4 separate regions of the Homo sapiens genome follow, and all the other regions are linked to region 2. Evidence: promoter capture Hi-C in 16 types of primary human blood cells and fetal thymus (Javierre and others, 2016). All regions are on one chromosome and are shown on one strand. The core of a region is centred on a gene start or on the middle of the fragment in contact, and the rest is flanking DNA. Distances in the headings are between cores, read along the strand shown. Region 1 overlaps ELMOD2 (ELMO domain containing 2). Region 2 holds the start of OTUD4 (OTU deubiquitinase 4). Region 3 overlaps ZNF330 (zinc finger protein 330). Region 4 overlaps SCOC-AS1 (SCOC antisense RNA 1).

Region 1 (2,925 bases), core at 31-2,530, 4.7 Mb after region 2:
TCTGAACAAAGGAGTGTAACTCTGGACTCTTCCCCCAAATATTCACTTATATATATGAGTTATTCTTAAATAGACCATTCTTAAAGAGTACAACTAAATCATTAAAGTACCTATTTTAAAGGTTACTCTTCAGAACATAACAGATATGCTTGCAACTCTCAAGAAGGTCTATTTTATTTCTGGCACGATTCATAATACTAGACAGTAGCAAATCAACATTTTTGACCTTGAGCCACATTTTACATCATGATCAATAACAAACATTCATGTGGATGTCCAAAATACACACAGATGTACACAGAAATATTTAAAATAATTATAATAGTATAAAAAATTCCTAAAATATATTTAACCATATTATGACCAATGGTTTCTAAATATTTTCTGTTCTATTCCTATTATTGTTTAATACTGGTTGTGTTCTATTATGGGATTTCAAACAATGGTCTAGATGACCCGTATTCTATCCTTGCCACACCAAATAATCTACATGTAGACAAAATTGTGAACTACAATAGGGAAGTAACAGCATGTGGTAGACTGAATTATTGGTCCCAATTCTTCATTACCTTGTAATTGAATTATACAACCTACTCCCTACCATAGCCTTACGGTGGGCATATCATATTTCTCCACCCCTTGACTTGGGCTTGGCCATGTAACTTGTTTTAACTAACAGGTTGCTAACAGACATGACACAAAGAGACTTAAAATATATTTGTGTAGTTGGGCCTTTAGTTATCCATGGTGAAAACATTCACCAGATACCTGTTAACCCCCTACCTGAGTCCCAGATGAGACAAATGGAATAGACAGGAACTTGGCCCCAGCTTGAAGTAAGGCTTCTCCAGCTGACCCATAGACATATGAGCAAGAAACAACGTATCGTTTTATGCCCCTGAGATTTTATTATAGTTTGTTACACAGCAAAAGCTGACTAATACATAGCATGAATTATGACTTATTTTAGCTCAAAAGGTACACAACCCAGGGTTTTCTCTATCCTAAGTTGCTTTTCTCTCATATAATCTATCCTGAGGACACAGTCTAAAAGACGACTTTCCTCCTAAGGCCCTGCTTTCCTAAAAGCTATCAACTCTTAAAGCAAAATAAACAAATAAAACCTCAGGACAGGACAAATTATTCAAGTATTTTCTTTGAAATACACACGAAAAACACATATATAGAGAAATGTTTGAAAACAGAATATTACCTCTAAACGGGGAAAATTTCACTCAATGCTCACTATAGAAAACACTCTTCTAGCAGGGCACTTTTTTTTTTTTAAGAAAAAATATGTCCACGTTAAGTTTTCTAGAGTTACCACCTTTATGTTATCCTACCTTATTCTTGGAGTATGTCAAGGAATTTTCTGAAATGACAAAAAAAAAAAAAAGATGTTATCACTTAAATGCTGTTTGTCAATTACCCTATAATAAACAACTAGTAAAAATATCAAACCAGTAACAAACTAATAGTTCCAGGAGATATAATTTCTATATAACAGGAAGCATTTTAAAATTTAATCTTACAGTATAAACATATGATTTCAAAAAACTCAACCAAACACAAAATACCTATTCAAAGAGGTGACACCAACCTCATTACCTGGGGTCATATGTTTCTGTTTAGACCCCAAAGTGTCTACTAACCACTGCAAATTCACCCATAATTGTGTCACAGTAGCTCAGGTCCCAGAAACTCATCTTAAGACTACAATGAGAGTGCTCTCTACTGCATTTTCATTTGTTAGCCTGAGCCTTTAGATTTGAGGTGATAGCAACCAAATCGTACAACAAATAGGCAAGGACTTCAGATTATCTGGTCAACCCTTCTGTCACCAGACAAATAGCTTCTCCATTCCTGGTTTCTATATCAAGAATCACAGGAACATTTTTATTGGTCTATTTAAAAAATTTTCTGGCACATTTACGAATAATCTTTTCTCAGCAATTTGAAAAATTTAGGAAAAATGCTTTTGCCACAAACAAATGCCTTTATATATATTCTTCCCCCACACTATAAAACACCAACCCATACTGCCTGAAGAGATTTCTTATCAAGAGGTACTTTGTTCTTTTGAGTAGTCAAAAGGGCAAATTAAAAGAGCAGCAATAATTTAAGTCAACCATGAAGTTGTAAGAAAACTAGGAAAGTAATTAAACTTAATCAACCAGCTGCTATGAGGCAGCGTCTGTCTGTCATTCTTCCGATGTTGTCTTGGATACAGGTTCCATTTGCCAATACTCCACTCTCTTAACCTGACAGGGGTTGATTTCTCAGTCGAAGCACACTTGATCAACACAAAAAAAAAATCTGGCTAATTCACAATTTTCCGTTTAACACAGAGAGCATGAGCTAGAGCACTTCTCTGCTCTTCCTTACCCTGGCTGAAAAGAAGCGACTTCAAAACACAGTTCTTACTCATCTGTGTTCAAATTTTAGAGTAAAATTTTCAATGAAGCACTGAAAACTGATGTATTTTAGAAGGTAACAGAGCAACACTGTTCAACAGAAATATAACACAAGCCAAAATGTGACCCATTTGTGTACTTTAAAATTCTGTATAGCCACATTAAAGTAAAAAGAAACAGATAACATTTTAATATATTTTTAACCCAACATATCCAAAATATTACCATTTCAACATACAAAGAATATAAACAATTACTGGGACTTTTTACATTTTCTTATAAGTCTTTGAAATACAGTTTATATTTTACACTTACAGCACATCTCAATTTAGACTAGCCACATTTCAAATGCTCAATATAATGTGGCTATTGGCTATGGTATTGGACAGTGAGAATGAGTCTAATAATCTTTCCTAGAGACCACTGGATACATAATTACAGGCCTTTCATAAGTAACAGTAAGAAAGTAAAAGACTGATGAAGGATCCTAAGTATAAAAATGGATGTAGAC
Region 2 (2,783 bases), core at 108-2,607:
TGTTGGTCAGGCTGGTCTCGAACTCCTGACCTCAGGTGACCGGGCTGCCTCGGCCTCCCAAAGTGCTGGGATTACAGGCGTGAGCCACCACGCCCAGCTGAAACTATACTTTTCTAAACCTGATTTCAAAGTGTTTCTTCGCTACAACAAGTAAATTTGAGGCAGGGACATTTTTTCATTTAGGTAACGATAACGTTTGTATTCTCTAAAAGCAGCATAATTTGAGATACAATATTTAAACATTAAGAAATCAAAGACGCTCCAAGGAAAGTGAATACATGACTGATTGCTTGCACTGAAAATACTGAAAAGTGTCTAACGTAGTTTTTAAAAAATTTTTGTCGTTGGACTCTCACCACCTGGCCTGCCTTGCCCCCCATTCCAAGGTATTTGACTACATGTCTAAACCTATAGTAATGCTCCCTTTTCTTCTCCCTCTCCTCCACCATAGCCTAAAAGACTGAATTAGTTCCTATGATTAACCATGTATTTAAATAAGGACACCAGATGTTGTATCTTAGCAAAATAAAATTTTGGTGCAACAGAAGCATGCTGGATAAATTCTGGGTTCTAAAGCATAATTTAACTTTGTCAATTCCCTGCCATTCAACGTCGGAGGGTGGGAAGTTGAGCTGAAGCCTCGAGCACTGGTGGAAGCCATGGCCAGTCCAGTCAGCATGTTATCAAGCAATTTACAAGATGAATTTTTTAAGGGGGAAAAAAAAACCCTAACGTCTTCCGACAGTGACATGTCTCTGTGATGGGGTGCTCAGCTACAGTGACAGGGTGAACAAAAATGTCTTTGGCAAAGCCTTCATCTTGCCGTAGTACGTGAGCTGTACTACTAATAGCAATCAGCAGTCCACGGTTGATTTATGGACAGAGTGTGTCGTCCCGCACCGTGCCAGTTCCCGGAGCCTCAGCCAATTAGCTCTATTTTCTGCTTAAGCCGTTAAAGCCACCTCCATGGAAACACCAGGAGAGCAGGCCGGGGGGAAGGGAGCAGACAGGTGCGCCCTCTGGAAAGAAATACACAAAGGGCCGACACTGCGCCGCCGTGTCCCTGGCAACTCCACGCCAGCCCGGCGCGCGCGATTCCCGCGGCGCAGCGGCAGGGTTGGCGGGTGGCGCGCGCAGGTCGCCCCACATCGGCCGGCGGAGCCCCTCGGCCTGCTCGCGGACGCGGCGCCAGTGCAGCGCGAAGCCGGCTTGGGGCGGTGGCGGTGGCGGCGGCGCGCCCGCGCTGTAGGGACTTGTAGTCCGCGCGCCTCCCGGGCACCTCCCCCGGGTAGGCCGGCCAGCGCGTCCCCGCCCGCCGCAAGCCGACTTCCTGCGGCTGCCAAGACTACATCTCCCGCCGTCCTCTCCGCTGTCGGGCCGAAAGCGAAAACAAATTCTGGGCTGCGAGGTGCTGTTCTCTCCCGGGCGCCCCCACCCGCTCCCTGCCCCTCCGGCGCCCTCCAGCGAGGTGGGGAAACGAAAGGCCGCGTCTTTCTTTTTGGTTTCCTCGGCTCCCGGCGTGGGGAGTGCGCGGGGGCGCAGGCCCCGCTTCACCTGAGCCGGCCCAGCGTGCGCGCCAGGGGCGGGGGTTTTCTCGCTTCACACCGGTACGGAGGAGGAAACTTGTGGGGGCGGCGACCCCCGGCCTGGGTCCTGAGTCAGGCAGCGAGGCCGTCGGGAAGTGACTACTCACTCTCGGGGTTTTCCTTAATCCCGCTCCCCCCGTTTGTCGTGGGCGCGTGTTCGCTCCGAGGAGGCGGCCGCGTGCGGACAGCCATGCATTAGGCAGGGCTTCCCTATGCGCCCGGAGAGCGCGGACCGCTGCCTCGGGCCGCCGCCGCCTGCCGCCGCTCGCGGAGCCCGAGCCCCAGCCCGAGCCGCCGCCTGCCCCAGGCCGGGGCGTCGAGCAGCCGGCGGCCTGGCCATGTGGGGCTAGCCCTCGCCGCGCCTGGCCTGCAGCAGGACCAGCAACATGGAGGCTGCCGTCGGCGTCCCCGACGGCGGGGACCAGGGCGGCGCGGGGCCCCGCGAGGACGCGACGCCCATGGACGCCTATCTGCGGAAACTGGGCTTGTATCGGAAACTGGTCGCCAAGGACGGGTCGTGCCTGTTCCGGGCCGTGGCGGAGCAGGTAATTGCGGGGGGGCGGGGAGGGCTTCGAGGGGAGGCGGGGACGGCCCGGCGGGTCTGGGTGGGGAGGCAGCTGCGGGCTGTCCGGGCCGCCCACGGCCGGGGCTGCGCGTGCCCTGGCTGTCGTCACAGCGCCCCATTGTAACGCCGGAGTGGGACGCTGCTTTGCGTCTGAAAGGTGCAAATTGAAACTCGAAAGCCCGCAAATTAACGGGGTGTCTCTCTCCTGATGAAGAGGTAATGAGTTGAGGACAACTTGTGAGGCCTGCTCGGAGCTTGTACAGTTGATTTATTGCTGGGGACCTGGCGACATGATATTTTTTACTTTTGTTCCGCATTCACCTTCCTTCCCTTCGTTTGAGAAGCACCACGCTCACCCCACTCCAGTAAACCAAGTGTTTACTAGAAGTGGTGGATCAAACTTTACTTGTGGAACATATTTTGGTTTGCTGCTGGACTTTGGAATGTAGGGTAGGCAAGCTCGCCCATGTCACTTGAATCAAATGGGCAAACTGCCGTTTGAGAAAACCAGCCTTTTACAAATATAGAATATTTTGAAGGATTTGTCTTGAGTAGGTTCCACCCTTTATTATGCTCTGCTGGGCTGTGTAGGTATACTAAACAGAACTGACTTTTTTAAAAAAGCCTGTTTT
Region 3 (2,793 bases), core at 263-2,762, 4.0 Mb after region 2:
TCATTATCACCTGACCACCTGCAACCATTCTTTAACCACGGCAACCATCAAAACTGTATACATTTAGCAATTTATCAACCCTCAATGATAGTAGGCCGCTTCATTTAAACATTTTACTACTCACTCTAAGCCAAAAATAAAAAGGGTTCTCTGAAAAACAACTTCTTAACAGCTATCCACAATATACAAAACTCAGTTACATATCAAAAGAAAAAAAGGTAAACTGTACACTTATCCTAATATTATTTAATTAAGCCAAAGAGATGGAAGTATTTTCCTCAAAATGAATTTAATTCAAATAAAGTTTGAAGGAACCAACAGCTTAAGCTTTCTTGTCTATAATAATTCCTGTAACTACACTGAATTTTTAAATACTACCATTTCTGATTTTTAAAATACCTTCTTATCTATATATTTGCATAGCTTTTCTAGAATTACTGAGAAATACGAAACTTCTGCCAGCTTCTTTTTTTCTCTTATGACAACTTATGTTTTAATAATAATTACATTTCTTTGTGGAAAAAATTTGAAGTAAAATATATGGAACTAAAATACAGGGTAAGATTCTCCAATTCTATATCAAGAAAAGACAATAACAATATGTTTCAATAAAACATTGACACCTACCAAATATTAAAAGCTAGAAAGAATCTTAAGAGAGTAGGATCAGACAATCTTTCCTTTATAAAGGAAAAGCATGGGGCCCAAGACTAAATCCAAGTCCCGAGTTGGATTACAGGTGAGGTGAGATTTAAAGCCAGGATTTCAGAATCTCAATTCAGTATTCTATTATTCAAGGCTCTGAAACAAATGTAGTAAACAACAAATAGGAAGAATGTTTTTTGACTTGCAAAAATGGGTTATCAGTATAGCTAGCAAATCATCAACTATATCTCTTGGATCAGCCAGGGTTCTTGCAAAAAAGAGATGGTACTCTCAAACTAGGTAATCTAGAAGAGTTTTAAAGAGATAATTTGCAGAGGACAGGGAAGTTCTTAGGACAAACAGGAGAGGACTACCTGGCCATATAGGGAGAACTGTGGTCCTTAGAGAAAGGATAAAACCAAACCAGGATAACCTGGTACGGAGTGAGATGAAGGAATAAACACCCAGATCTTATTCTCCTGCTATTCTCAGGGGGAATCTGGGGAGGCAAATAGAAGATATCCAGAAAATCACTTTTCTAGAATTTACAACTAAAGATATATGACTCTACTTAAATGTTTTCTTTATGTAAGAAGAAATTATTCACATTCAAAAAACAGTGATTTTAAAAAATGAATTTGGCTGAACTTAAGCTACCAAGGAAGACTGAAAGTGTTTTTGAATAAAGATAACTTGACAATCCTATACTTAAAATAAAGAGCAATTCACAAGATGATAATTCTCGCTCCTTGCTTCTATAATATATGCACATATGAAATATATCATAGGTCTCCCTCATAATAGAAGTTTACATGTTCTTGGAAATTTACCATAAATAAAATATTCCATTTGACATAAATATAGTATCATTTTCCTCATAGATTAAAATTTGAACAAAATTTTATTTGAACATAAAATCATACTGCAATACAGTAAAACTGGTTAACTCATATTTAGAAGGAAAACATGTTTCAGGAAAAAGAGCAAAATACATCACATAATCCAGTTGGTTTTATTATTCAAAAAGCTGAATTTACTTTAAAAAATCCTATATGTAATGAAGAGGTATGTTAAATATATACACTTTTTTGAAATGTAAAGTTTTAAAGAACACTATTATCCTAGGTTCGTTTGGAACTAAGTTGCTTATTTAACCAAAGGCTTAAACGTTGGTTAAGCAGGGCTTTCGGTACACTAAATACTGTTTTGTGAAGTCTGGTTAAGAGATATTAGAAAGGTACCACTGAGTATATACCCAAAGGATTATAAATCATGCTGCTATAAAGACAAATGCACACGTATGTTTATTGTGGCACTATTCACAATAGCAAAGACTTGGAACCAACCCAAATGTCCAACAATGATAGACTGGATTAAGAAAATGTGGCACATATACACCATGGAATACTATACAGCCATAAAAAATGATGAGTTCATGTCCTTTGTAGAGACACGGATGAAGCTGGAATCCATCATTCTTAGCAAACTATCGCAAGGACAAAAAACCAAACACCGCATGTTCTCACTCATAGGTGGGAACTGAACAATGAGAACACATGGACACAGGAAGGGGAACATCACACACCACAAACCGGGGACTGTTGTGGGGTGGGGGGATGGGGGAGGGATAGCATTAGGAGATATACCTAATGCTAAATGACGAGTTAATGGGTGCACCACACCAACATGGCACATGTATACATATGTAACAAACCTGCATGTTGTGCACATGTACCCTAAAACTTAAAGTATAATAATAATAATAAAATTTAAAAAAAAAAAGGTACCACTGAGAAATGAAATTCTGTTTAGATCAGCATGAAAAGTTTCCATGCCTTGTATGTTCCCTAATAAGAAAGAAAGAAGCAGCTAGAAACAAGTGGGTACTAAGGGAAAATCATACAAAAAGCATGCCACTCATAATCCAGATAACTACAGATTGATTGAAACAAGGGACAAAGCAATGATATTTAGAAAAAAATAACCACTGATCAGAATGACATTTTCTTATCCTTGAAAACGTACTAGTCTAAGAGATAATAAGAAGCTTACCACCATTGCAAGGCCAGTACTGTATACACCAGCATGCTTTATGACACAGTCTGAAGACTTCATCATGCACTTTGTTTTCCCTAATGAAGAAAAACA
Region 4 (2,786 bases), core at 169-2,668, 4.8 Mb after region 2:
CAGTATTCAAAGAGTAATAACTAAGAATTTTCCAAGATTGTGGAATATTTGAATTTTCAGATTCAAGAAGTACTTATTCTTGAGCAGGATTAATATAAGAATTCTATGCAACGGTGAAATTGCAGGACACCAAAGATCAAGAGAAACTATTAAAAGCAACCTTTTGTTTTTGCTAGAACAGTATTTTTAAATATTTTTAATTGTAGTGAAATATACATAGAATAAAATTTACCATCTTAACCATTTTTAACTTCAGTAGTATAAGATACATTCCACATTGTTCTCCAACCAATCTCCAGAACCAATCTCTCTTTTCATCTTGCCAAACTAAAACTGTATACCTATTAAAGAGCAACTCTCCATTTCCTATTCCCCTCATCCTCTGGCAGTAATCATCTTACTTTGTGTTTATCAGTTTGACTACTCTAGGTACCTCACCTAAGTGGAATAATACAGAATTTGCCCTTTTATGACTGGCTTATTTCATTTAGCATAATGCCTCAGAGTTCATCCATGTTATAGCATATTGCAGAACTTCCTTTTTAAGGCTGAATAGTTCTATATATCATTTATTATGTGTATTATGCCACATTTTGTTTATTCATCTATCAGTGGACGCTTAGGTTGCTTCCTCCTTTTGGCTATTGTGAATAATACTGCTATGGACATGGGTGTGCAAATGTCTCTTTGAGACCCTCTTTTCAGTTCTTTTGGATATACACCCAGAAGTGTGTGTTAATTTGTGCTGAATCATATGGTAATTCTATTTTAAAGCAACTTTTAAAAAAGTGGTATTGACACAAGAATAGACAAAAAGAAAATTAGGAAAAAAAGGGTACCTGGAAGTTGGTATACAATAAAGATGTCTGGTGAGGAATAACTGTTTCTAAGGTTGTGGGGAAAAAACTATTATTCATTACTGTTGGGAGTGTAAATTAGTATAGTAACTGTTCGTGGGATATAGAAAACACAAGTTATGGTGGTTCTAGTTAAATTGGCTATTTATATAAAAATAAGAAATTCAATCCTGATACCACGACAGAAATAAAACTAAATTCCAAATGAAATAATGATCCAAAATGTGACAAACAAAACTCTAAACTTTTAGAAGAAAAGCGTATGTCTGTATATCGCCGTAGGGAAGAAACAGCACGATTCATTAAGGAAAGATGTAAAATATTGATTATTTTAAAATTTGGAAGTTTTACAAACAGAAGAGAAGCCATCTCTAATCAAGTTAAAAAACAAGCCACAGGTTGGCAGAATATAGTAAAACTCTCAAAATATAAAGAATTCAGGCCAGGCGCGGTGGCTCACGGCTGTAATCCCAGCACTTTGGGAGGTCGAGGCGGGTGGATCACGAGGTCAGGAGATTGAGACCATCCTGGCTAACACGGTGAAACCCCGTCTCTACTAAAAATACAAAAAATTAGCTGGGCGTGGTGGCGGGCGCCTGTAGTCCCAGCTACTCGGGAGGCTGAGGCAGGAGAGTGGCATGAACCCAGGAGGCAGAGCTTGCAGTGACATGGTGCCACTGCACTCCAGCCTGGGCGACAGGGTGAGACTCCGTCTCAAAAAAAAAAAAAAGAATTCAGACAAATCAGTAAGAAAAAGACAACTCAAGATAAATATATGCAAATAACGTAAGTAGGCCACTTACAGAAGAGGAAAACTGAACGGCCAGAAAGGTTTTTAAAAAATGTTTACCTTCACTAATAATTAGGTAAAATAACATTAAAACAATTAGATAAAGGGGCATATTCATCAAGAAGACACAAAATCCTAACCACAGTGCTACAAAATAGAAATGAATCAAAAATTAATTGAATTCAAACAGTTCATTACTCCCTGCTCTGCAATTTGTAAAACAACTATACAGATAATTTAAGTATACAGAACTCAGGTCCCAAACTTTTCAGTATATTAGAATCACCTGGGAATCTTTTAATTATTCTAGTGAACAGACCACACCTCAGAATAAATTACAGTCTTAAGGAGTGAGATACAGGCATTAGTATTTTTGAAAGTTACGAAGGTGATTTTGAAAAAAGGCTGGCAAATTTCTGAACTATTGATATAGAAGACCTGAACAATCCTATCAGCCAACTTGACCTAATGGACATTTGTAGAACATTGCACCCAATAACTGAAGAACATGCTTTCTTTTCCAATGCACTTGGAAAATTCATCAAAATAGACTCCACTGTGTATCATCAAACAAATCTCAGCAAATTTAAAATAATTGAAACAGTAAAAATTATTGTCTCTACCCACAAATTAAACTAGAAATCAGTAACAGAAAGATATTTGTAAATCTCCAAATAGTTGGAAATCAAACTATGTACTTCTAAACAAACCATGGGTCACAGGGGAAGTCACACACAAAAAAATTAGAAAGTAATTTTAAACTAAAATGTAAACATAAAAAGGCAGCTCTTGCATGACTCAGCTTTCAGCTTATTTTCAGCTTTCAGACTTGGGAGGCTGAAGCAGGAGAACTGCTTGAACCCAGGAGGTGGAGGTTGTAGTGAGCTGAGATGGCGCCATTGCACTCCAACCTGGACAACAAGAGCGAAACTCCATCTAAAAAAAAAAAAAAAAAAAAAAAAAAAAAAAAAAAAAAATCCCCCTTCTGAATAAGGAAAGGCTATAAGTACAAATAGAAACCACTGAGATTGCATAGAAATATTTGATTATAAGGTGAACATTCATGCGACCTGGACTATGTGAATATTGATAATATAGTTCATCTAAATAAAGGCACAAAATTACATTTTTTTTCCTAG

What was found. The method cuts DNA at HindIII sites, captures the fragments that hold promoters and counts their contacts. A CHiCAGO score of 5 or more calls a contact.
Region 1: a fragment that was not itself captured here is called in contact with the fragment with the promoter of OTUD4 in region 2 in 2 of 17 cell types (non-activated CD4 T cells and total CD4 T cells); the score reaches 7.8 in non-activated CD4 T cells.
Region 3: a contact is called between a fragment that was not itself captured here and the fragment with the promoter of OTUD4 in region 2, in 1 of 17 cell types (activated CD4 T cells). The highest score is 6.3, in activated CD4 T cells.
Region 4: a fragment that was not itself captured here is called in contact with the fragment with the promoter of OTUD4 in region 2 in 2 of 17 cell types (non-activated CD4 T cells and total CD4 T cells); the score reaches 7.9 in non-activated CD4 T cells.

What each region holds. Positions count from the first base shown.
Region 1 is chr4:140,525,913-140,528,837 of GRCh38, reverse strand. ELMOD2 (ELMO domain containing 2) reads right to left here. Exons shown (of 9, transcript NM_153702.4): 3 at 1,344-1,372. Among named protein-coding and RNA genes, the nearest start is that of ELMOD2, 3.2 kb to the right of the region's middle. The HindIII fragment of the contact is 4,334 bases long and covers 1-2,925 here.
Region 2 is chr4:145,179,163-145,181,945 of GRCh38, reverse strand. OTUD4 (OTU deubiquitinase 4) reads left to right here and starts at 1,357. Exons shown (of 21, transcript NM_001366057.1): 1 at 1,357-2,131. The coding sequence starts at 1,973. RefSeq lists silencers at 951-1,350, 1,441-1,670, 1,791-2,250 and enhancers at 596-1,425, 1,426-2,255. The HindIII fragment of the contact is 3,984 bases long and covers 1-2,783 here.
Region 3 is chr4:141,226,751-141,229,543 of GRCh38, reverse strand. ZNF330 (zinc finger protein 330) reads right to left here. Exons shown (of 10, transcript NM_014487.6): 5 at 2,698-2,777. Among named protein-coding and RNA genes, the nearest start is that of ZNF330, 7.3 kb to the right of the region's middle. The HindIII fragment of the contact is 2,365 bases long and covers 330-2,694 here.
Region 4 is chr4:140,369,696-140,372,481 of GRCh38, reverse strand. All of the region lies in intron 1 of SCOC-AS1 (SCOC antisense RNA 1), which reads left to right. It also overlaps a transcript of SCOC not described here. Among named protein-coding and RNA genes, the nearest start is that of SCOC-AS1, 2.3 kb to the left of the region's middle. The HindIII fragment of the contact is 4,110 bases long and covers 1-2,786 here.